5 separate regions of the Homo sapiens genome follow, and regions 1, 2, 4 and 5 are each linked to region 3. Evidence: promoter capture Hi-C in 16 types of primary human blood cells and fetal thymus (Javierre and others, 2016). All regions are on one chromosome and are shown on one strand. Each heading gives the region's core, a stretch centred on a gene start or on the middle of the fragment in contact. The rest is flanking DNA. Distances are from core to core; before and after follow the strand shown.

Region 1 (4,975 bases), core at 1,826-4,325, 1.1 Mb after region 3:
TAATTCCAGCACTTTGGGAGGCCAAGGCAGGTGGATCACCTGAGGTTGGGAGTTCGAGACCAGCCTGACCAACATGGAGAAACCCTGTCTCTACTAAAAATACAAAATTAGCCAGGCGTGGTGGCATATGCCTGTAATCCCAGCTACTCAGGAGGCTGAGGCAGTAGAATCGCTTGAACCAGGGAGGCAGTGGTTGCGGTGAGCTGAGATCATGCTATTGCACTCCAGCCTGGGCAACAAGAGTGAAATTCCGTCTCAAAAAAAAAAAAAATTTCTGCTGCATTGAGAGGCCGAGATGAATCAGAACAGGACTTGTTGGGTTTCCCACTCAATTAGTGTTAGATCATGTCCCCTTTGTCCAATCACGCTTCTACACGACTGTCGATCATGCCTATCCAATAAAGTCCCCATAAAAGACCCAAGGGGACAGGGTTCAGGAAGCTTCTGAGCTGGCTGAACATGTGGAGGAGGTTCCTGGAGGGTGGTGTGCCCGTGGAGGGCATGGAACCTCTACACCCCTTCCCCCAGACCTCACCTTATGAATCTTTTCATCTGTATCTTTTGTGATATTCTTATAATAAACTGGTAAATGTAATGTATATATACATATATATGGAAATATGTTGAAATTAGAATTTCCCAATATTAGAATATATGTACAATTCTAATTTCAATATATTTTCCAGAATCAATTTTGTTTTTGAGCTACAAAAACAACAATTTCATTTGGTTCACCCAAAGATTCATGTGACTTCTGGGCCGAGACACTGGCTTCCCTTGCTGTTTGCTTAATGGGACCACTAGGGATCCATATTTTGAACTAGACTCGTTAATATTACATAGATTTCCAGCTAGGTGACTTTGGCCAAGCCCCTTATCTGCCCTGAACCCTTTTTCCCCTGTAAAACAAGGGGGTGGGGCTAGACTCCCTCTAAGTTCTAGCTAAGACATTCTAGGACTTAGAGGAAGCCTTGATCTAGGCAGACTTGATGACCCTTGGTCCAGTGAGCTAAAAGCAGGGCTGCTTACAGAAATCAGCTCAGCTAAATAAAGAGTTTGAAGAAAAATATTAAAATAGAGGGCTCTGGCAAATTAAATATTCAAAGTGAAGAACTCAGAATTTATTGAAAGCCTGTCACCATTTAAAATGCATAATTTTAGCATAAATACTCTAGAAATATTCCTTTTGTTTGCTATGTGTTATTGTTAATAAAGGAGATCCTACATCTAGATTTGTCATACGTCATTAATGAATCAACCATAGGATGTAAATTATAATTATTTTGAATTATCTATTTACTGTTTAATTACATTTAATTTTAGATTCTCCTAAAATGGCCTAATAAAAATTTTGGGTGCTAAATGACTGCCTCATCTGCTTACTCTGTGCTACTTGCTAAAATTAGTTATATTAATTGTTTGGGGATTCTTTTTCTTAAAAAAAAAAACTAACCCTGGGGGCATGGTCCTAAATAAAATATCCTAAAAATTTAATGCTTTTCTTTTCTTTGCCAGGGTTGTAGTAAAATGTTAGTTACACTAAACTCATTAAAATAAACCTTTGCACATTACCACTGAATCAATTGGATATAATCTGAATAAAAACTAAATAAAAGTCACATCAGTGCTACCCTTGGACCAGGGCAAGAAGGCCTCTGCCCTGGCTTCTGTGTATTAGAGGTTCTGTTCTAGCCCTTCTCTGCCCATGCTGCTCCACGCAAGGCAAGGAGGTCCCAGGGCCAGATGACAGGCCCACCTGGGGTGCTCACACACATACACACACATGCTCTTCTAGAACACGTTCTAAGTACCCAACACCCTTACCTTCCCTGCTCAAAGGGGCCCAAGCTGCTTTCTAAGGCTTTAAAAGGCCTCTTGGCTGGGTCTTTCCTGCAAGGGTGACCATCACTGGCATGCTCACTGCCCGGCCAAGAGGAGGCTGAGGTGGGGATGTAGGCAGAGTTGGGACTTGCTGGCTGGAGAAGAGGAGGAGAAGAGGCAGGGCACACACATCCCTGCTAGTGTATGAGACCCCCTCACAAAGCAAGACTGAGCCTGGGGTGGGAAATGGAGTTGGGGGGAGCTGGAGAAGCAGGCAAACTAAATTCCACCCTGGTTGTCCAGGTTCTTAAGAAGGCATATTGGTCAAAGTGGAGAGGAGAACACGTATTTTACCTAAGTTTGTTATCTTGAATTATAATTCAATATTTAGGCGGATGGTATGAGGGCCTCCATTCACACTCTTGCCCTGGAACTGGCAAATGTGAATGGAAGGCTGAGTAAAATCATAGTTTTGTGTTGTTGGCCTTTGAGTGTTCCATCTCTCTTACAATTTTAGTTTGTCACACCTTGCACCTTGTATGTGTAAGTAAAATTAATGGCATAGGAAAGAAACCAAAAGAAGTGAACAATAAGAGACTAAAGAAACTCTACAGGCCGGGCATGGTGGCTCATGCAAGTAATCCTAACACTTTGGGAGGCCAAGGTGGGTGGATCACCTGAGGTTGGGAGTTCAAGACCAGCCTGGCCAACATGGTGAAACCCCGTCTCTCCTTAAAATATAAAAAATACCAAAAAAAACAAAAATTATCTGGGTGTGGTAGCGCACACCTGTAATCCCAGTTATTCAGGAGGCTGAGGCACGAGAATCTTTTGAACCCGGGAGGCAGAGCTTGCAGTGAGCCGAGATCACGCCACTGCACTCCAGCCTGGGCAACAGAGTGAGACTCTGTCTCAAAAAAAAAAAAAAAAAAAAGGAAAGGAAGGCAGAGAAGCAGGCTAAGGCTTAATTTTTCTGCCCAGTGGGTTTTGAAATATGGTTGGCTTCCTTCAGGAAGCTTTTTCCCGACGTTGGTGATGATAATAAAACCTGATGCTTTCTATGTGCTGGGCCCACTTATAAACACTAACACATATTAACAATCGAATCCTAAACTAATCCTGTGTTAACAGCCTCCCACTTTACATATGAGGAAACCTGGGGTGACTTGCACACGGCTTGGCAGCTGGGACGTGGATAGGGAATGTACACCCAGGCAGTCTGGCTCCCGGGCTCCTGCTAGAGGATCCTACAGGACATTAGGAGCATTGTCCCTTAGAGCTGTCTGCACAAACGTCTGCTTCCCAAGCAACTAGTTATCAACTTTTCCCTCTCGCCAACGATACTGGCACCTGGAACAATCCTTAGATTCAGCACGGATTTTCGAGTAAGGGGTTGGTCCACTGTCGGGGCTGAGCACGGCTGTTTAGCATTTGAGGGTTTGTCTTTTTTTACTTGGTGTTTTGTGTCGCTTTTGAGTGCTGATATAATAGAACAAGCTTAGTACAGTGCCTGGCACTCAACAAATCCTGGCAAGAAAGGAGATCGAGGAAAAGAAGCAAGCGAGAGACGAAAGAAAGGGAGGGAATGCGCCTTGTAACATTAACGTAGCTTGTGCGAATCCTGGAAGGTGAGGGGAAAGGAGACACCGCGTCAAGGGAGAGAGGAGAGGGCACCGAGCGCCCGCCCCTCCGACGTGGTCCGCCCCGGCCTCACGACGCCCCGCCTCTGCCACGCCTCTTCCCCGCCCCATGCAGGTCTTCGTCCCGCCCCCCACAAAGCCGGCTTCCGCCCCGTCCCTCAGCGGCGCCCCGCCCCCACGGCGTCTTGCCCCGCCTCCTGCAGGCGGCCCGGCGCGGTGTTTACCCGCGGTGCATGGTGGGGCGGTCTCCTTCGGCAACCCCGGCCGAACGGCCACCCAGAGGCTGTGCTGAGCTGGCGCAGCGGCAGCAGCATGAGCCGGACCCTCGCATCGGCCGTGCCCCTGTCGAGTCCCGACTACTACGAGAGGCTGGGCCAACTCCAGCACGGGCTGCGGGACAGGTAAGGGCACTGGGGCGGGGGTGGGGAGTCGGCCCGCGCCGGGGGTCTTCCGCGTGCCCTGCCCCATTTTCCTTCCCGCTCCCCCGTCCGAGGTTCCCCGGGGCCCAGGCCCGCGCGCAACGCCCCCCAGGCTCCCAGTGGGGCCTGGAGGACAGTGTTTACTAGAGCCACCCCCTGTATTGGGGGTGGGAGCGGAGAGAGGTGAGAGACCGCCCCCGCCCCGTCAATAGCAGCTAAAGCCTGGTCTACGGTTTGAGGATGCGGCCGCGTCACAGAATTTGCCCAGAAGTGAAGGTGGGAGTTCTTCTGCCTGTCACTCTCCATCAAGCCTTGTGAGTTTCTCTTGTCCCCTTTTACACGCCCCCTCCCCACTCTCTTCAAATTGCCATCCCGCCGTGACAGCTGCACTGCATCAATGATGACAAGTCCTGGAACGCAGACGGTTGTGTGTGTGTGTGTCAAACATGTGCCCCCGTTTAAACTCAGGAGACTTTTAGGGGTAGCGAGGGCTGGCTAGATTTCCAGCGAAGGGATGAAATTTCCAGCTAGAGAAGTCCAGCTTCCAGAGGGTTCATGATGCCTTTGATTAAGATATGAAAGATGGGAACCACTGAAAACAGCTAGATCTAAGAGTGCATATAGAGAGAAAATTATACCGCAATGTACTATGAATAACCACGTAAAAGATAAATTGCTGGACCTCTTATTTAGCTGCTAAGTTAATTGGAGTTGTAACTCTCATTAGTTGACAAGAAAGGAAATACATTTTTGGATCTCTTGATAAACAAAACATTTAATGAGTGTTAAAAGTTACAAAATCATTCTAGTGAACAGGAGAGCTGTGTGCGTGACAGTGCTAAAATGATAACAATAATTACATGGAAAATAAAGGCAGAAGTGAGCGATTTTGAAAAGGAATTACATTTATCTTACGCTAGATTTAATTCTTGTCAGATATTTATAGAGCATCTACAACAGGCTTCCTTAATTGTCGTTAGCATTTTTTTTACCTTGTACTCCTTTTCTACGTCCTATTTTCTTTCTGACATGTCACCGCTCACCCATATCAGTGACCTCTTAATTTCTGACTTTAAAAAGAAATCTCTTCCTGTA
Region 2 (4,962 bases), core at 2,140-4,639, 1.5 Mb before region 3:
TATAATCTTTCTCTTTTTTTTTTAACAAAAATGGAATCATGCTATCCATTCTGTTTTGCAATTTGTTTTTTTCACTTACTGTATCTTGGACATCTTTTCATGTTGGTACACACAGCTCTGTCTCATTCTATTTAAGGTAAGCCTTTCTTTTGGTAAATATGTCACTGTGGTGACCTTGTCTGCTAATTTTGTTTAAGTAGTGATGTAGATTATTAGATTATCCTATAGTCCTTACCTTACTAATTTTACTTTATTCCACTACAGTAAAATGAAGGGATCCGATAACCAAGAAAAACTAGTATATCAAATCATAGAGGATGCAGGAAATAAAGGTAAGCATGTGAAAGATGAAGCAGAAAAAAACATTGTCTTTGGAACTAGATATAGGGACCCAGATCTCAGCTTCCCAGGGTAGAACTCAGTGGACAGAGTATACTGAGGAAGGTAATAGAACATACAAATATAACATGCATGTGCTTGAAGGACACCCAAGAGTAAGGCCGTTGTTGCCTTGAAAGAGACAAGAACTAAAGGGCTGTGTCCAGGGATGGAAAAAGACGTCTGAATTCTGAGTCACATGAATGTATTATCTATTCAAAATAAATAAAATTTAAGTTTTTTTTTTAAATCTGTACCTTCTAGCTATATGACCATGGACAAGTTACTTAAACTTTGTGAGCTTCAGTTTCTTTATCTTATCTATAAATTGTGGATGCTGACACCTCTCGTTTTTGCAAGGACCAAAAGGAAAGCTGGTGTGGTGTAGCAGTGTCTTAACAGATGTCCCTCCGCAGCTATAGTTTCTCTTCTACCCGCTTGAAGAACTGTATCTAAATTGCAATCCTAAGTTACAATAATTTGGGATCTATTTGAGTCATTGATATTAGCTGGAAAAATTGAGATGTAATCTGAAATTACATAACTAATTCTTATATTTATTAAAATTAACATTTTTAAAAATAGTCCTATGAGAAAGCCATTCTGCATATTTTTTTAATCTTCCTATCTCATATGCCATTACATTGGGAAGAAAATAAAGCAAAATATTTACATACATTCCCTTTCCATATATAACACTTATTTCCTTCTTTGAAAAAGAAATCATTGCTTCTCACACAGGGCTTTTAGCAGCCATAAGAACCCTAGGCTTCCTTTTCCATCTCACAAATACAATGTTGTATAAATAATGGATTACATGCATGCAGACACTCATCTAAAGAGTGTTTTTGTCCCACTTGAGGATGGCAGTTGACCTTGACCCAAATTTAAGTTTGTATTTCACATTTACAATCTAAAATGAAAGTATCAGAAAACAGAGATAAGGGTACAGATGATAAAATTCCATTGCATCCATGATTTTTCCTTCCATTATAAAAACGTCGTTTTCATAATTTTTTTTTTCTTTTTTTTGAGATGGAGTCTTGCTCTGTTGCCCAGGCTGGAGTGCAATGGTGTGATCTCGGCTCAGTGCAACCTCCGCCTCCCGGGTTCAAACGAGTCTCATGCCTCAGCCTCCCGAGTAGCTAGGACTACAGGTGCATGCCATCAGGCCCGGCTAATTATTTTTGTATTTTTAGTAGGGACAGAGTTTCACCATGTTGGCCAGGCTGGTCTCAAACTCCTGAGCTCAGGTGACCCACCTGCCTCGGCCTCCCTAAGTGCTGGGATTACAGGCATGAGCCACCATGCCCAGCCCTTTCCATAAGTTTTTTAAAAGTTTGCCACACTGGGATTCCAAGAAATTTCTAGTTAGAAATTATAAATCATTATAATAAGTCTTACAAAGCATTATACTTATTTATTGTTTAGCATACTTTTGCTACTTTAGCCAGCATTCTTTACTGTTAGCTTTATACTGCTAGCTTTGGAATGAGACACAAGTTAGAGGAATAACATTAAAAATCCATGAAAACCAGAGTTCAACTTATTTTACTTTACTTTCTTATAGGAATATGGAGCAGAGATATCCGCTATAAAAGTAATTTGCCATTAACAGAAATCAACAAAATTCTGAAGAATCTGGAAAGTAAAAAGCTTATCAAAGCTGTTAAGTCTGTAGCAGTGAGTAGTCCTTTCCTCAGATACCCACTTACATATGTTGCTTCAAGTTTTTATTCTTGAAGTTATGTCATGATTTAGAACAGCTGGTCAAAAAAGACTTAAAAATTTAGCTCATGTTGGATTGGTTTGGAGATGCTGCTTAGACTTGTCCCTACACAGTTAGCTCTTGGTGTCTCACTCACCCACTCAAAAATCTAAAACTACTTTACTGTCTTCAGTGAAGAATCTTTGGAACTGTGAACATTTTTCCTAGATTTTGTGGTGTGTAAGATAATTTACTTTATCCCGACATATTAGCTTTCTCATTCAACAAAGAGTGTTTGCTGTGTGCCAGACACTGTTTTGAGTGCTTGGGATACATTAATGAACAAGTCGTAGAAAGATCCCTGCCTTGGTGGAGCTTCTCTTCTAGTACACGTGTGTTTTTCCTGCTCCTCATCCTGCCCCACCCCTGCTCCAGAGCTGGCTCCCTCGGGGACATCTGCCCCTGACCTCACTGATTTAGACATCAGAGGAACTGAGATTCCCCTAGAATAAAGTTTGCTTCAATACACATTTCATAAGAATTACAGCTATAATTCAAATTTTATAATTTCAGAGCTGTTAGGTCTGTGGCAGTGAGTAGACCTTTCCTCAAATATCCGCTTACATATGTTGCTTCAAGTTTTTATTTTTGAATAAAACAAGAATTATAAGAATTATAACATCACTTATAAGAATTTGATGCTTATTAGTGATTTTATTTATCAGAATAGCATTTCCCTTCCACATTGTTTAATGGATAATTTCAAATATATACAAAGGTAGAAAAAATCATATAATAAAACCCTATCATGTAGCCTCATTTTGTCAGTCCTCCTTCTACATCTTTATGTTTAATAACAGCTCTGCTGAAATATAATTCATCATTCATACTACAGAATTCATTCAACCTTTTAAAGTGTAAAATCTTTGGATTTACAGTCACTGGTTTTTACTATAAGCTAAGAGTTGTGCAACCATCACCGCTGTTCTAATTTTAGAACATTTTCATCACCCCCAAATGTGGCCACTAGTATTTGTTTCCCAGCCTCTCTTTCCATAGGCCCTAAAAACGAATAATTTATTTTCTGCCTTTATTATAGATTTGCCTATTCTGGACAGTTCCTATAAATGGAATAATAGAATATGTAGTCTTTTATGTATGACTACTTTGACTTAGCATGATGTTTTCAAGATTTATCCATATTGTGCTTTATTCCTTCTTATTGCCAATTAAAATTCCATTGTATAGATGTATATCACCTTTTGTTCATTCATCCGTTGGTGAACTTCTGTGTCCTTTTAAGGGTTAAAATAATCTTAGATCTCAGTGTAAAGTGCAAAACTATAAAACTTTTTGAAGAAAACATAGAAAATCTACATGACCTTGGCTTTGTTAATGAATTCTTGGACTATAACTCCAATAGTAGTCTATGAAAGAAAATGTTAATAAGTTGGAGTTTATCAAAATTTTTTGAAAACCTCTGCTTTGCAAGACACATTAAGAGAATGAAAAGACAAGTTACATACTAAAAGATATTTGCAAATCACATATTTGATAAAGGACTTGTCTCCAAAATATACAAAGAACTCCTAAAATTCAGCAATAAGAAAACAACACTTTGGGAGGCCAAGGCGGGTGGATCACCTGAGGTCAGGAGTTCAAGTCTAGCCTCACCAACATGGTGAAACCCTGTCTCTACTAAAAATACAAAATTATCCAGGCGTGGTGGCACATGTCTGTAATCCCAGCTACTTGGGAGGCTGAGGCAGGAGAATTGCTTGAACCCAGGAGGCAGAGGTTGCAGTGAGCAAGATTGCACCATTGTACTCCAGCCTGGGCAACAAAAGCGAAACTCCATCTCAAAAAAAGAAAAAAAAAAAAAAACACACAATGAAAACAAATAATCCAACTAAAAATGAGCAAAAGATCTGAACCTCACCAAAGAAGACATACAGATGGCAGATAAGCATATGAAAAGATGCTCTACATTATTTTTCATTAGAGAACTGCAAATTAAAATAAAATTTAGTATAGTGAGATACCACTACACACCTATTAGAATAGCTAAAATCTAAAAATTGGTAATACCATATGCTGACAAGATACAGACCAAGATGAACACTCATACATTGCTAAGAATGCAAAATTTTCAGTCCTTTTGTTAAAAAACTGGGCAGTTTTTACAAAACTAAACAGAGTCTTACCACATTGTCCAAAGGTCAAGCTCTTAAGTATTTACCCAACTGATTTGAAAACTCATGTCCACATAACTACATGAATATTTATAGCAGCTTTATTCGTAATCAGCAGCTTTATTCATAATCAAAAACTGGAAGCAACCAAGGTATCCTTCAATAGGTGAATGGATAGACAAACCAGAATAGTATTCAGTTATAAAAAGAAATAAGCTATCATGAAAAGATATGAGTAAATCTTAAATGCATATTGCTAAGTAAAAGAAGCCAGTCCGAAAAGGCTACATACTGTATGATTACAACTATATGACATACTGGAAAAGGCAAAACTAGACAGACTAAAAAGATCGGGGTGAGGGCAGGGATGGTAGGGAAAGTTGAATAGGTGAAGCATGAGAAATATTTCTAGGGTGGTGAAATTATTTTGTATGACAGAAGCATTAACCAAATTTGGAAGCCCACCCAAGCTTTGCTGTCCAAAGTTTTTATTAGGGTTTCATTATACAGGCATGATTGATTGAATCCTTGGTCATGTGAGTGAATTCAATCTCCAGCTCCTCTCTTCTCCCAAGAGATTGGACTGATGTCATGTGGCCCAAAGCCCCAACCCTCTAATCATGCGGTTGGTCTTTCCAGCATGGACAACTCCTATCCTGAAACTATTTAGAGTCCTATCAGGAG
Region 3 (4,961 bases), core at 390-2,889:
AAATCAACATTAGTTCATGTCACACACAAAAAATTATGAAACACTTTGAAATGGCCAGAAAAAGATTACTGTTTAGTACACGTTTCCAGGTTTTCTCTGCTTTTTATTGTCTTTGACAATACAAAATTTTACAAATTTGTAAGCTGAGGAAAATTGATAGTAATGAAAATTTTTCTTGTCCATAAAATACAAATGCATAGTGTTATACAGTGCCCAGGAGAGACAGTGATTACAGCTCTGTGGATATTGACCAGTTTAACACTCATGTGTAAATACATTTCAGCATTCCTGCTTGCTTTATGTATTTTATCTCTCTTTATCTTATCTTTTTGAGACAGGGTCTTGGTGTGTCACCCAGGCTGGAGTGCAGTGGTGCAATCATGTCTCAGAGCAACCTCTACCTCCCGGGCTCAAATGATCCTCCCACCTCAGCCTCCCAAGTAGCTGGGATTACAGGTGTGAGCCACTGTGTCTGGTCTGAATAAAGGAATTTTTAACTTTTAATTTTAACTACTTTAAATTTAAAAACTGATGTTTGGTTCAGCGATTTGAAAACAGTATATTTGGAACCGCTTGGATATGAGAATCTGCTTTTTAACCATACATTGATGAAATCTAAATAGAGAACAAGCATTTCCGATGACAGCTGCTCTCTCAGATTGAAATGCACTGCAAATGTAAAATACACACCGGATTTCAAAGTCTTTGCAAAAAAGAATGTAACATATCACATTCCTTTTTTTATTGATTGATTACATGTTGAGTATTGATTGGTTACATGTTGAAATGATATTTCGGGTATAATAAAGTGGGGTCAGGGAAAAATATTTTTCCCAAATAGGAAAAATAAATGGGTAAAATAAAGCGTACTATCAAAATCAATTTTACATTTCGTTTTGCTTTTATTTATTTATTATTTATTTTTGAGACCAAGTCTAGCTCTGTCGCCCAGGCTGGAGTGCAGTGGCGAGATCTCGGCTCACTGCAACCTCCGCCTCCTGGGTTCAAGCGATTCTCCTGCCTCAGCCTCCAAGTAGCTGGGATTAGAGGCGCGTGCCACCACGCCCAGCTAATTTTTATTTCTTTCCTTTTTTTTTTTTTTTTAGTAGAGAGGGGGTTTCGCCATGTTGGCCAGGTTGGTCTCGAACTGCTGAACTCAAGTGATCTGCCCGCCTTGGCCTCCCAGTGTTGGGATTACAGGCGTGAGCCACCGCGCCCGGCCTTCTTTTTGTTTTTAAACGTGGTATTGACATTTTAAGATGACATCTGCAACTCGCAACACTGGGACAAGGGATTCTGGGTCATAAATTCTCCCATTCCTCATTTACTCTGCAGCACCGGGTGGCTGCGAACTCCGCTCTTCTGCTTGGGTTTCCGCATCACCAGCAGCTTCTTTCCTTCCCAGGTGTCGCCGCCTGCTTTCTGCAGCCGCTGCCTGGGAGGGGTTCCGAGGTTCTGGGCAGCCACAGCCCCGGAGGCCTTACAGGAGCGACCTGGCAATTCCCGCCGCCGGCCGCCAGAGGAAGCTGCTTTGCTGCTGTCGTTGCCCAGCAACTCGTAGCCCGGAAGCAGTACCCCGTCTCGCTCGGTTCCGCGGCGGCCACGCTCCGGGAGACTTCCGGCAGGGCGGGCGCGGGGTCTTGGCGAACGGTCTTCGGAAGCGGCGGCGGCGCGATGACCACGCTACGGGCCTTTACCTGCGACGACCTGTTCCGCTTCAACAACATGTGAGTGACACGCGCCTAGGGCCAGCCGCTCTTGGCCGGGCCTCGCTTCCCGGCCCCGCCAGCTCCGGCCCCAGCCGCGCCTTCCCGGCCGGACCCCAAGCCCGGACGGGGACCCGCGAGAACCACCCCCCGCCGGCCAACGTGGGCGCCTCCCTGGGGCCACAGGGTCCAGGGAGAGGTGGGCCTGGAGTCGACGCACGCCGGCCTTGGCGACCTTGGCCGAGGTGCTCAAACTTTGTCTCTGGACCCTGCGAGCTGGCAGGTTCTGGGGCAGCGCTCGGGCCTCCGCTCGTGGTCGCTGTCAGGAGGCGCTGGGGTGATGGGGCGAGCTGGAGACGCGGCCTGGAGCCCACGACCTGGGCTTCTCGCCCTGCCCTACTGCTTGCTGGTTCGTGGCCGGGCCGCGCCTCTTCTGGGCAGAGGGCACCGCCGACGGCCAGGCCGCAGAGGGGGCTTGCGAGGATCGGAAGCTGGTCAGCAGCTGTTGGGATGTGTACATCGTGAAGCCCACCTGGTGGCCGTGGTTAAATTGTATCCAAATGAAATGACACTGATCACTGCGTCCCCTGCAGCAGATGCTGTCTCAGTCATGGTTAGTGTTTGCAAGTTTAGTTACTGTAGCTGCGCACCCCGGTGTACACACCTTTCCTCTGTGAGGAGTCACGGCAGATCTTAGGGGAGGCTCGCTGTGCCCAGAGCCCTGGATGCAGTTTCTTTGGATTCGAGTTAAGGCCAGACCTCTGATTTGCAGGTACCAATTTTTTTTTTTTAAGAAAACATTTTATTATGAAGATTCCCACACATTTAGAAAAGTTGGAGGAATTTCACCATGTGCTTTTATAGACACTTTTCCTGGATTCTGCAGTTAACATTTTGCTACGCTGGTATCTCTCCTTCCTTCCCATCTATCAGTCCTGGATCCACTTTAAAAAAACAACAGGGCGGTATGTGAAAACTAAGGACAAAGTGGTTCCGATTCAAGTGTCAGGAAGATGGAAAGAACTATGGGATAAGATGGCTGGGAACATTTCAAAGAGGGGGTGAGCCTTGAAGATGGATAACACATTGGTAAGTGAGGAAGACGGAAGTTCCGGAGAAGGAGCGGGGCATGAAAATGGGGAAACTTGAAGTGCGGTCAGACAACTGGGATCAGTGCGAATCTAGTGGCTGGTTTCTGCCACTGAGCAGTCAGGAAGAAATGGGTGAAACAGGAGGGGTTTAGACTTGATCCTGTGGAAAGAATTTTCTGTTGGGCCAGTCTGGTAGCTACGGTGACTTGTGTTGAACTCACTGTTCCCTGCATTGTTCTGAGTGCCCACGTAATAATCCAGTTAATCCTCACGATTCTTTGAGGTGCTGTCACCCCCATTTTGTGTATGAGTAAACCAAGGCATGGCAAGCACAAGTGAATTGGCCCAGGTGAGAATGAGTAAAGCGAGGAACTTCATCCAAGGATATTGGCTCTGGAGCAGTGGTTCTGAAAGACTTGGTGCCTGTGGTCAGGGGACCATGTTAGAAACGCACATTCCGTTTGCGATCCACTGCTCTGGAGTGGGTCTTAACCCACCTGGAGCCTCTGGAGAGGCTCACCCTCTCTTTAAAGTGTTCCCAGCCATCTCATCCCATAGTCCTTTCTATCCTCCTGACCCTTGAATCGGAACCACTTGGTTTTTCGTTTTCACTTACTGCCCTGTTGTTTTTAAAAGTGGATCTAGGATTGATAGGTGGGCAGAGAGAAATGATGAAGCCAGTGTAGCAAAGTGTTCACTGTAGAATCCAGGTGATGGATTCAAATTCTTAACCACTGAGCTCTGTGGGCTGTCATGTGATGACAGCAGGTAAACTGGGCAGGTAAGCCATTCAGGAGGCCTTGGCAGTGGCCCAGAGACGATGACTTGACAGAGGCTTCAGTTTGGGAGGTGCAGCATGGGAGGTGACAGGGTGCCTTGAAGCTTCAAGAAAAGGCAGAGCCTCATGGAGAATCAGTTTTAACTGAAGATCTAGGAAAGGACAACAGTTTTACATGGAAATGAATAGAAAGAAAATACACAGGAACACTTGCAAGAAAATATTAGATTTCAGAGAATCATGTGGCCTCTTCAGAAGGTGCCAGTAGGGGAACTCCACTTATTCCCCATTTTCTTTTATTTTTTGAGACAGGGTCTCGCTCTGTTGCCCAGACAGGAGTGCAGTGGCACAATCCTAGGTCGCTTTAGTCTCAAGCTCCCAGGCCCAGGCAATCCTCCTGCCTCAGCCTCCCGAGTAGTTGGGACTACAGGCACGTGCTGCCACACCCCACTAATTTTTAAATTTTTTTGTGGAGACAGGGTCTTGTTTTGTTACCCGGGCTGGTCTGGAACTCCCAGGCTCAAGTGATTCTCCCACCTAATCCTTCCAAAGTGCTGGAATTACAAGTGTGAGCCACCACACCTGGTTCCCATTTTTTTGTATTTACTTGCCTCTTTGATTAGGGCATTTTGGTAGAAAACTCTGAGAATGACTCAGATTAGATGATGCAGTTGGAATTGAAATAATCCATGGATGTAGAACACTGCAATTAATTTAACACATATTTTATTCTTGGAAAAATATTTGAGTGCCTACTGTGTGCCAGTTCTAGAGACACAGCAGTGAACAAGACATAAACAAAAAGGTGTCTTTATAGAATGTAGATTTTCCCCTCTAAACACCTTAATGTATCATAAAGTAGCTGTGACTTCATAGAACACCTGAAACAATTTTGGGGACCCCCTCAAATCCTGGCCCACACCTTGGGAATCACAGTGCGGGGAGTCATGTGGAACTTAGTGTTCAGTTACAAAGGAAAATAGAAGCAGGGAAGGAAAGCTGGAAGTGAGTGGGGATTCAGCTTTAGTTTGGGGGTTCAGGGAGACTGCCCTTGAAGAAAGACCTGGGGAAGTTAGGAATGAGTTACATGAACACTGGGGGCCAGGGGAGCTTCCAGATAGAGGGAACAGTAAGTGAAGACACCCCTGTTTCAAATAGGAGGCAGGCCGCATGGCTGGTACAGAGTGAGCATGGGAGGGTAAGGGGATAACAGCAGAGAGTTAGAAGGGCAGGGCCTGGAGAGGCCATCATAAGACCTGAACTTCTCTGCCAAGTGCACCAAGAAACCCAGGTGGAGGGGCCAGGAAGGCATCTGGGCATGGGCGTCTCAAGATTAGGTCTGAGCTAAAGATGGAAATTTGGGGGTCAGCACAAGTGTAGAAAAAA
Region 4 (4,754 bases), core at 2,255-4,754, 1.9 Mb before region 3:
ATGACAAGAGCATCTAACTGTATTGCAAACATATGAAACGATATCACTGAAGGGGTGGAGGGCAAAGGTGCTGATTTGGTAACTTTGGAGTAAATGAGGTCTATAAAGCCAAAAGCAATAGGAACTGCAAAAAAGCATGGTACTCTAGTAGGTAAAGTTGTTTCCCACAAAAAAAAAATGACATATAATTATGAGGTAAACAATTCTGAAACTGCTATACATGTACACTGGAATCAAACAATTGCGCAAGTGGATGGTGGAAAATGGGAGCCTGAATTCTCACTGATGGAGTAGGAATTTACCAATAAAAAAAGGAGGTTAGAATAATCCATCTGGTAATGGACTAGAGTTGCAGACATCAGCAATATCTCACATTTTAGTCAATATAGATTCAGGTGATTACATATAGAAATATTTGCAGATATGTAACATACACAGATAAGTATACACACATATATTTATGTGCTTTGTCAGCTGAGAGGGCCCAAAAGAAACAAAGCCCCAGTAGCAATAAGCATGCCAGGACCTATATCTTGGATTCCAATATTATTCTACAATAAAAAGAACCTTGGATTCTTGGAGAAATGGCAGATTCTGAGACTTGGGCAGGAAATATACAAGATTAGCTCAGAATATTGTGCAGTGTCAGAAAATAGACAAGTGCTAAACAAGAAAAACACACATTGATGAGGGTCCGTCAGAGAAGCAGAGGAGCTGAAAGATCTCCCAACGGCCAAAGCGGGAGCCATCTGAGCAACAAAATAAAGTAATATTGGATTATAACCCAAAGTATAAAATAAATACCCACCAGTCCACACTGATAGAAACAAATGATTGAATCAGTTACTAAATGGGAGAGAAGAGACAAACCTGTGCAGAATTTCAGATTACTTATATAGATACTGCATTGAATTCATGGTGATTAATTCCAGTACCAGAAGAAAAACTGGCTGTTTTGGAGTTCCTGAGAAAATATCTATTTTCTTCAACATGTCACCTTCCTAAAATGTTTTCAAGGGTAGTTTTAACTGTTTTTGACTTTTTCCTTATGTGCTGACTTCAGAGCCTCAGCCTGAAGAAGGTGGGATTTCGTGGCCTTGTCTGCCTATAGAGCCCACTACAGGGCCATACACAAGGCAAGCCTTCTTGCTTGCATTTAAAATAGTCATAATGGTGCTTTATGCGGTGCCATGTGGTGTGATGTTTCTGTAATCATTTAGTGCTGAGACTGATAAATTTATCAGTCACTGGTGCCAGTTCAGCTGACACCCTCCACCTTCTTCCCAAACAAACCTCCTCCTTCCCACCTCCTCCTTCTCTCTCAGCCCCAATGATGACAAGCTTCTGATCATTGCCTGAAGCCTCTGCCTTGACCTATTGCATTCATGCCCACCATCAAGCCCAGTTTAAACCCGTGCCTCCTACTGATACCTCCTGCTAGGGTACTAGTGATTTACTATTCTTTAAGACAGAAGTGACCCGAAACCCAGCTCTCCCAGGATAGCTGCCAGGACCTGGCCATGATTCAAGCCCAAATAACATAAGCCAAATTACACACTCAGTGAGGAAGGCATTTTTTTCAAGTCCCCACCCTTGTGTGAGTGAAGGTGGAACAAAGATTGTGTGACCATGTTGTTCAAACACAGGAAAATGACTGCATTCCCTCCCCTTAGTTTTCATTTGTTGATTCTTCTCCAAGCCCTGACTTCCAACTGTACTTCTTTTTTGATGCTGCCTCTTGCTTAGAGGATTCTGAAGGGAAGGACAGGGTAGTATGCTGTTCTAAAGAGTATGGGACTTTATCCTGTAGGCATGGGGAGCCACTGAGCGGTTTTTAAGGTGGTCAGCTTCCTATTTTTGTCTTTGGAGGTAAGTTCACTCTGAAGGCCAGCCAATGGCAGGGCAAGGCACCCACTGTCCTCTCCAGGAAAGCAGTGGCCATTCTGGGCACACCTAAGTCAATCCAAAGCTGAGAGGGGCAGGAACTGATGTGATCTTAGGATGCCGAGACACTAGAATATAGCCAGATACACAAGGTTCAGATGTTCTGGCCTTACAAGCAAATTGTATTAAATCAGCCATGCTTCCTAAGCTTCGTCCCACCTTGGTAAACATAAAAAATAAGGATATCTGTACAACTCACTGGGATCAACTTGCGTGAGCTTGGATAATTCTAAAAGGAGCTTCATGGATAATAATTATTTACATTTCCTTTATATGGTACTCTTATAAAAAAGAAAAAGAAAAACAAAAAAATAAATGACATATAATTATGAGAAGAAAAATAAAAGCAAATCTTGGGGTAGATTTAAATATCAACTTTGGGTAAAATTTCCTGATAACATTCTTCTTGGAGTCTCTTTTAAATATCAAGTTTTGTGTTAAAAATAGTTCCTGATCATTGCTCCTGCACATAGTTCTTGATCAAGATTTTTTTTTTTTTTTTTTTTTTTTGAGATGGAGTCTCACTCTGTCACCCAGGCTGGAGTGCAGTGGTTTGATCTCGGCTCACTGCAACCTCCACCTCCCGGGCTCAAGTGATTCTCTTGCCTCAGTCTCCCAAGTAGCTGGGATTACAGGCACCCACCACCACACCTGGCTAATTTTTGTATTTTTAGTAGAGACGGGGTTTCATCATGTTGGCCAGGCTGGTCTCGAATCCCTGACCTCAAGTGATCCACCCTCCTTGGCCTCCCAAAGTGCTAGGATTAAAGGTGTGAGCCACCACGCCTGGCTGATCAAAATCTTTTTAAATGATCATCTCTTTAATTTTTGATAGTTACCATGGAGAAAAAACTTTTTTTTTTTTTTTTTTGAGTTGAAGTCTCACTCTGTCACCGAGGCTGGAGTGCAGTGGCTCACTGCAACCTCTGCCTCTCGGGTTCAAGCAATTCTCCTGCCTCAGCCTCCCAAGTAGCTGGGATTACAGGCATGCGCTGCCACATTTGGCGAATTTTTGTATTTTCAGTAGAGACGGGGTTTCACCATATTGGCCAGGCTGTTCTCGAACTCCTGACCTCAAGTGATCCACCTGCCTTGGCCTCCCAAAGTGCCTGGAATACAGGCATGAACCACCGTTCCCAGCCAAAAAGCTATTTGATACAAGAAGTGATGATAAAATGTAAAGCCATCGGCTATGAACCAATGGGAAAAAAAAGAAAAAAACACACAATAAAAAATCAAAAGGAAATAAAGACAATAAAAGAAACAAAAAAGAGCCATTTTTTTTCTGTTCGTATAGTTATGTAAGATTTTGTATAGAAGTGTATCATGCATGTATGTGTGACCACACAGCCTTGGTGTGCCACTGGACCAATTTTCACAAACACCCAGTACCAGCACCCAGTACTAGAGTTCTAGATCAGCCTAGCCAACATGGTGAAACCCCATCTCTACTAAAAATACAAAAATTAGTGCAGCCTGGTGGCTCAGGCCTGTAACCCCAACTACTCCAGAGGCTGAGATACAAGAATCGCTTGAATCTGGGAGGCAAAGGTTGCAGTGAGATCACCCCACAGCACTCCAGCCTGGGCGACGGAGTGAGACCCTGTCTCAATTAAAAAGAAGAAAAGAAAAGAAAAAGAAAAAAATAGTTGCTTCTCAGTTTGATGATATGCAGTCACTCTCACAAATCAGTAATTTATGCGACAATAATCACGGAAAATATACTGCTTAGGCTTATAAATATTTAAACAGATAAACATACTTTTTTTTTTTTGCAAGACCTCCCTCAGTCCCCCAACCCACTTTTTTATTTGACACAGTTAATAATAAATGATTTCTTAAAAGTAGAATACTTTTTTTTTTGCTTCTAGTATCCTGAAAATAAAGAAAAGAGTACATTTCAAGAAAACAAGTTGAAAAATTAGTCACAATAAAATGAAAGGCGATTGATCTAATTCCCTGATGTACACTCTAAGGACATACAGCTCTGTTGAAGGCTCACTGATTTACAGGGGAAAATATCTAGGATATACCACGAATAAAAAGAAGTCTAATATAATTTTTAAAGAGAAATATGCAAATACACCCTGAACTGAATTTCTTCTCAAAGTTCATTACAGCAAGAACTCCATTTTCCAATTCAGTGGTACATTCTCTCTAGGCTGCAAAAAATGCTGTGGACAAAATGACATTTGGAAAAGGTATCTTTAAAGATACCTTTAAGAGCAATAGTCCCCTTATGCCATTTACGCTCACATAAGAGACTGGAATAGCAAAGCACTATGAACAGTAATGAATGTTGTAAAACTCCCTGGTGAGGCTTAATCAATACTGCCTATAGCCGTGTCCACCGGAAGAAGCTCGTTCTCTGTGAATTCTAGTGGGAAAGAATGATTGAATGATGAACACGTTTTCACTGGTTGCTCTATCAGATACTTAAAAGTTTCTGGGAGGCCTTGCCTTTTTTACCCGAGGAAGAAGTGAAAATGCGTCTTGCACAATTGCTTAACTATTCCCAACGCAAGACTTCTTTATATCATTTATTTCCCTTGTATTACTGGCGCGGAAACTTGGGTGTAAAAGTGATCACAAAGATTACATGGGGCCAGGCGCGGTGGCTCACGCCTGTAATCCTCTCGGGAGGCTGAGGCAGGAGAATCGCTTGAATCCGGTAAGGTTGCAGTGAGCCGAGATCGCGCCACTGCACTCCAGCCTGGGCGATAGACAGAGACTCTGTATCAAAATTATAATAATAATAATAATAATAATCCGAGCCTGACCAGTCGCCCCACAGCGTCAAGGTGAAACCA
Region 5 (4,665 bases), core at 859-3,358, 1.3 Mb after region 3:
TGTGATTTTGTTTTTTGTGCTGCTTTTGTCTTTTTCCCTGGGGCTGTCTTTCTTTTTCCACTTTACATCTTGCCGCGCCCGGACTCTATTTTACCAGGTAGTCTATCAAGAGTCATCTTTCTTCTTGAATAGTCCTTCTTGGGGTCTTATTTATTTTTGTTGCTGTCACACCTGGCTATTCTGTAGGCTTGCTGGAAAGCTGCATCTGGGATTTTATTATTATTATTGCTATCATATCTTTCTTCAGTGGGAGGTACTGTTTTCTGGATCATCATCTTACTTCATTTGTTTATTTATTTAGAGACGGAGTCTCGCTATGTCTCTTAGGCTGGAGTACGGTGGCATGATCTCGGCTCACTACAACCTCTGGCCTCCTGGGTTCAAGCCATTCTTCTGCCACAGCGTCCAGAGCAGCTAGGACTACAGGTGTGCGCCGCCACGCCCAGCTGATTTTTTTTTAGTAGAGACGGAGTTTTGCCATGTTGGTCAGGCTGGTCTCGAACTCCTGACCTCAGGTGATCCGCCTGCCTCAGCCTCCACAGTGCTGAGACTACAGGCATGAGCCACCATACGTGGCCTTTTTTTTTTTTTTTTTTTTTTTGGATTTTTAGTAGAGACGGGGTTTTGCCATGTTGGCTATGCTGGTCTCTGTCCTGACCACACGTGATCCGCCTCCCTGGGCCTCCCTTGTGCTAGGATTACAGGTGTGAGCCACGGCGCCCGGCCCATCTTTCTTCCTTTAAATCGTTTTCTTAGTTTTTATTCTTAATTCTTTTTTTTTTTTTTTTGAGACGGAGCCTCGCTCTGTCTCCCAGGCTGGAGTGCAGTGGCTCAATCAATCTCGGCTCACTGCAAGCTCCGCCTTCGGGGTTCACGCCATTCTCCTGCCTCAGCCTCCTAAGTAGCTGGGACTACAGGCGCCCGCCACCACGCCTGGCTAATTTTTTTGTACTTTTAGTAGAGACGGGGTTTCACCGTGTTAGCCAGGATGGTCTCGATCTCCTGACCTTCTGATCCGCCTGCCTTGGCCTCCTTATTCTTAATTCTTAAGAAATGCTGTGTGGGATGTGAGATTTCCGAGTCATTGTAGGACCCAAAATAGCTCCATTCTACCCTTATACACGTGAATGATCATTAGCTAGGCATGGAATTCGAGGTGTTTTTTTTTTCTTCTTCTTTGAGACGGAGTCTAGCTCTGTCACCCAGGCAGGAGTGCAGTGGTGTGATATCGGCTCACTGCAGCCTCCACTTCCCGGGTTCAAGCCGTTCTCCTGCCTCAGCCTCCCGAGTAGCTGGGACTACAGGCGCGCCACCACGCCCGGCTAATTTTTGTAGTTTTAGTAGAGACGGAGTTTCACCATGTTGGCCAAGCTGATCTTGAACTCCTGACCTCAGGTGATCCACCAGCCCCTGCCTCCCAAAGTGCTGGGATTACAGGCATGAGCCACCGCACCTGGCCAGGAATTCCAGTTTTAATATTAGGTTCCCTCAGAACTTTGAAAGAAATTGTTCTTTTGTACTCTCTCATCTAGTAGTGTTGATGACAAGTTCGGTGTTAATGTGATGTATTTATTTAACCAGCAGTTATATAGCATTTACCATTGTTTTAAGAACTTTATTATAACTTGTTTGATCCTCACAACCACATGACTTCTACTGTTGTAATTATTTTTATTACATACAAATAATAGAAGCACGTTATTTGGAGACAACCAATATTGTTATTATGTTATAATAATTACTATGTTTATTGGCCGGGTGCGGTGGCTCACGACTGTAATCCCAGCACTTTGGGAGGCTGAGGTGGGTGGATCACGAGGTCAAGAGATCCAGACCATCCTGGCTAACATGGTGAAACCCCATCTCTACTAAAAATACAAAAATTAGCTGCGCATGGTGGCGCGCCTGTAGTCCCAGCTACTTGGGAGGCTGAGGCAGGAGAATCACTTGCACCCGGGAGACAGACATTGCAGTGAGCCGAGATCCCGCCACTGCACTCCAGCCTGGTGACAGAGCGAGACTCCATCTCAGAAAAATAATGATTATTGTTATGTTTATTATTATTTCAGATGAGAAAATGGAAACACAGCAGGGTCGCGTATCATACCCAAGGTCACTCAGCTGATAAATGTCAGAGCTAGTGTGGAAACCAGAAGGACTTAATTTTTATGCTCATATGCTTTCATTCTTTTGTGATCAGTTTTCCTTCCTAGATTTTAAAAAGATCTTTTTCTTGATAGTGTAAACTTTCATTATTAGGTACCCAGGTATAGATGTTATTTTAAATTCAGATTCATTTTGATCAGTACGTGGCTCACTCTTTGAGTCTGGAGTCTTACGTTCTTCGGTTTTAGGGAATGCTGTTTGATGATTTCTTGACCTTTTTTTCTTCCCTTTCCAGACTCAGGATACTGGTCCTCTTAGACTCATGTATTTTTATTTTTATTTTCTCTCTCATTCTCTGGCTTTCCTTGAAACCTCCCCCAACCTTTGGTGTTTTTGCAGCTTTGTTGAGGTATACTTGACATAGAATAAACTGCAGGTAATTAAAGTGTACAATTTTCTTTTAACTTTTTTCGAGTTGAGGTCTTGCTCTGTCACCAGGCTGGAATGTAGTGTGCAATCATGGCTCACTGCAGCCTCAAAGTCCTGGGCTTAAAGTATATAATTTAATACAGTGCATACATCTGTGAAACCAGCACAACCAAGACAGTGAACGTGACCTCTAAAACATTCCTTCTGCCCTTTTGTAGTTCCTTTCTACTATCCCTCCCTGCCACCTGTCTTTTGCCAACCACTGACTGGTTTGCTTTCTGACCGTATGATAAGTTTTCATTTTCTATAATTTTTTATAAATGAGATTATATAGTATATACTCATTTTTTGCCTCAGTTACTTTCATTCAGTATACTTATTTTGAAATTCTTCCGTTGTTGTATGTGTCAGTAGTTTATTTCTTTTTTGTTTTTATTTTTTTTTGAGATGGAGTCTCGCTCTGTCGCCCAGGCTGGAGTGCAGTGGTGCGATCTCGGCTCACTGCAACCTCCACCTTCTGGGTTCAAGCAATTCTCCTGCCTCAGCCTCCCAAGCAGCTGGGATTACAGGCACATGCCACCACACCCGGCTAATTTTTGTATTTTTAGTAGAGATGGAGTTTCACCATGTTGGCCAGGCTGGTCTTGAACTCCTGACCTCAAGTATCTGCCTGCCTCGTCTTTTAATTTTTGGATAGTATTCTGTGTGTAGATACACCACATTTTATTTATTTATTCAGATGATTGATGAACATTGGGATTGTTTCCAGTTTTTGGCTTTCTGAAAAAGAAACCTATGAACATCTCTGTACAAGTCATTGTAGGGACGTATGCTTGCATTTGTTTGGGGGAAAAACATTAGGAGTGAAATGGTTGGATTGTATATTAGGTGTGTGATTACTTAAAAAGAAAAACCTGCCAGACTTTTTTTTTCAAACTGGTTGTGCCATTTTACATTGGCATCAGCAGCATATCAGGGTTCCAGTTGCTCAACTTCCTCACCAACACTTGATATAGTTAGCCCTTTTAGTTTTAGGTAGTCCAGTGTACTGTTACCTTATTGTGGTTTTAACTTGCATTTCCTTCAGATGCTTATTTGCTTTCTGTATATCATCACGGGCAGGGTGAGGCATCTGTTCAGATCTTTTGCTCATTTTTATCTTCGGTTGTCTTACTTAAATGTAGAGTTTGTTACATATTCTAGATAGAAATCCTTAGTTTGATATATCTTTTGCAAATATTTTCTCTTGATCTGTGGCTTGTCTTTTTACTTCTTAACAGTGTCTTGGGAGCAAACATTTAAAAATTTTAATGAAGTCTGATTAATTTTTTCCCTTTATATTTCTGCTTTTTGTATTTAAGGAATCCTTTGTCAAAGCCAAGGTCTCCTGTGTTTTCTTAGAGAAGTTTTATAGTTTTACTTCATTCTGTGGTTTCCATTTTTTGGTCTAGTCATATGGTGAATTATCGGTCTTTAAATGCTAAAGCCACCTTGCATTCCTTGGATAAACCTCACTTGATCATGTTGTATTATTTTTATATACGTTGAATTCAAGTTTGCTAAAGTTTGCTAAAGTTTTCTTGAGAATTCTTGAGAATTGTGTCTCTGTTCACAAAAGATATTTGTAGCATTCTTGTAATGTGTAGTTGAGATGTCAGAATAATGTTGACCTCAAATTGAGTTCCTTCAGTTTTTTGGAAGAGTTTGTGTAGAGTTAGTATTGTTTCTTCCTAAAATGTTTGATAGAATTTACCAGTGAGGCCATCTGGACTTGGAGTTTTGTGGGAAGGCTTTAAGCTGCAAATTAAGTTTCTTTAGTTGATCTAGAACTATTGAGGTTACCTATTTATTTATTTATTTATTTTTTGGATGAGCTTTTTTAGTTTGTATCTTTCACAGATTTTGCCCATTTCATCTAAGTCAAGCTTGTCCAACCTGTGGCCTGCAAGCTGCATGCAACCCAGGATGCTTTGAATGCGGCCCAGCACAAATTCGTAAACTTTCTTAAAACATCATGAGATTTATGCACAGACCTTTTCTTTTTTTTTCAGCTCATCAGCTGTCGTTAGTATTAGTGGCCCAAGACAATTCTTCTTCCAAAGTGGCCCAGGGAAGCCAAAAGATTGGACA

What was found. The method cuts DNA at HindIII sites, captures the fragments that hold promoters and counts their contacts. A CHiCAGO score of 5 or more calls a contact.
Region 1: a fragment that was not itself captured here is called in contact with the fragment with the promoter of NAA20 in region 3 in 2 of 17 cell types (non-activated CD4 T cells and activated CD4 T cells); the score reaches 6.1 in non-activated CD4 T cells.
Region 2: a fragment that was not itself captured here is called in contact with the fragment with the promoter of NAA20 in region 3 in 1 of 17 cell types (total CD4 T cells); the score reaches 5.7 in total CD4 T cells.
Region 4: a fragment that was not itself captured here is called in contact with the fragment with the promoter of NAA20 in region 3 in 1 of 17 cell types (non-activated CD4 T cells); the score reaches 6.3 in non-activated CD4 T cells.
Region 5: a fragment that was not itself captured here is called in contact with the fragment with the promoter of NAA20 in region 3 in 3 of 17 cell types (non-activated CD4 T cells, naive CD4 T cells and total CD8 T cells); the score reaches 5.9 in non-activated CD4 T cells.

The regions. Positions count from the first base shown.
Region 1 is chr20:21,122,343-21,127,317 of GRCh38, forward strand. It overlaps KIZ (kizuna centrosomal protein), which reads left to right and starts at 3,740. Exons shown (of 13, transcript NM_018474.6): 1 at 3,740-3,862. The coding sequence starts at 3,774. RefSeq lists enhancers at 3,209-3,308, 4,209-4,258 and a silencer at 3,469-4,048. The HindIII fragment of the contact is 481 bases long and covers 2,836-3,316 here.
Region 2 is chr20:18,473,127-18,478,088 of GRCh38, forward strand. It overlaps POLR3F (RNA polymerase III subunit F), which reads left to right. Exons shown (of 9, transcript NM_006466.4): 4 at 265-332; 5 at 1,949-2,061. Among named protein-coding and RNA genes, the nearest start is that of MIR3192, 5.0 kb to the left of the region's middle. The HindIII fragment of the contact is 2,714 bases long and covers 2,033-4,746 here.
Region 3 is chr20:20,015,723-20,020,683 of GRCh38, forward strand. It overlaps NAA20 (N-alpha-acetyltransferase 20, NatB catalytic subunit), which reads left to right and starts at 1,640. Exons shown (of 6, transcript NM_016100.5): 1 at 1,640-1,727. The coding sequence starts at 1,675. RefSeq lists enhancers at 1,147-1,326, 1,941-2,441, 2,903-4,102 and silencers at 1,647-1,716, 1,767-1,886. The HindIII fragment of the contact is 8,583 bases long and covers 1-3,677 here.
Region 4 is chr20:18,132,605-18,137,358 of GRCh38, forward strand. It overlaps a transcript of KAT14 not described here. Among named protein-coding and RNA genes, the nearest start is that of KAT14, 2.9 kb to the right of the region's middle. The HindIII fragment of the contact is 2,828 bases long and covers 2,091-4,754 here.
Region 5 is chr20:21,304,976-21,309,640 of GRCh38, forward strand. All of the region lies in intron 1 of XRN2 (5'-3' exoribonuclease 2), which reads left to right. Among named protein-coding and RNA genes, the nearest start is that of XRN2, 4.0 kb to the left of the region's middle. The HindIII fragment of the contact is 4,700 bases long and covers 1-4,458 here.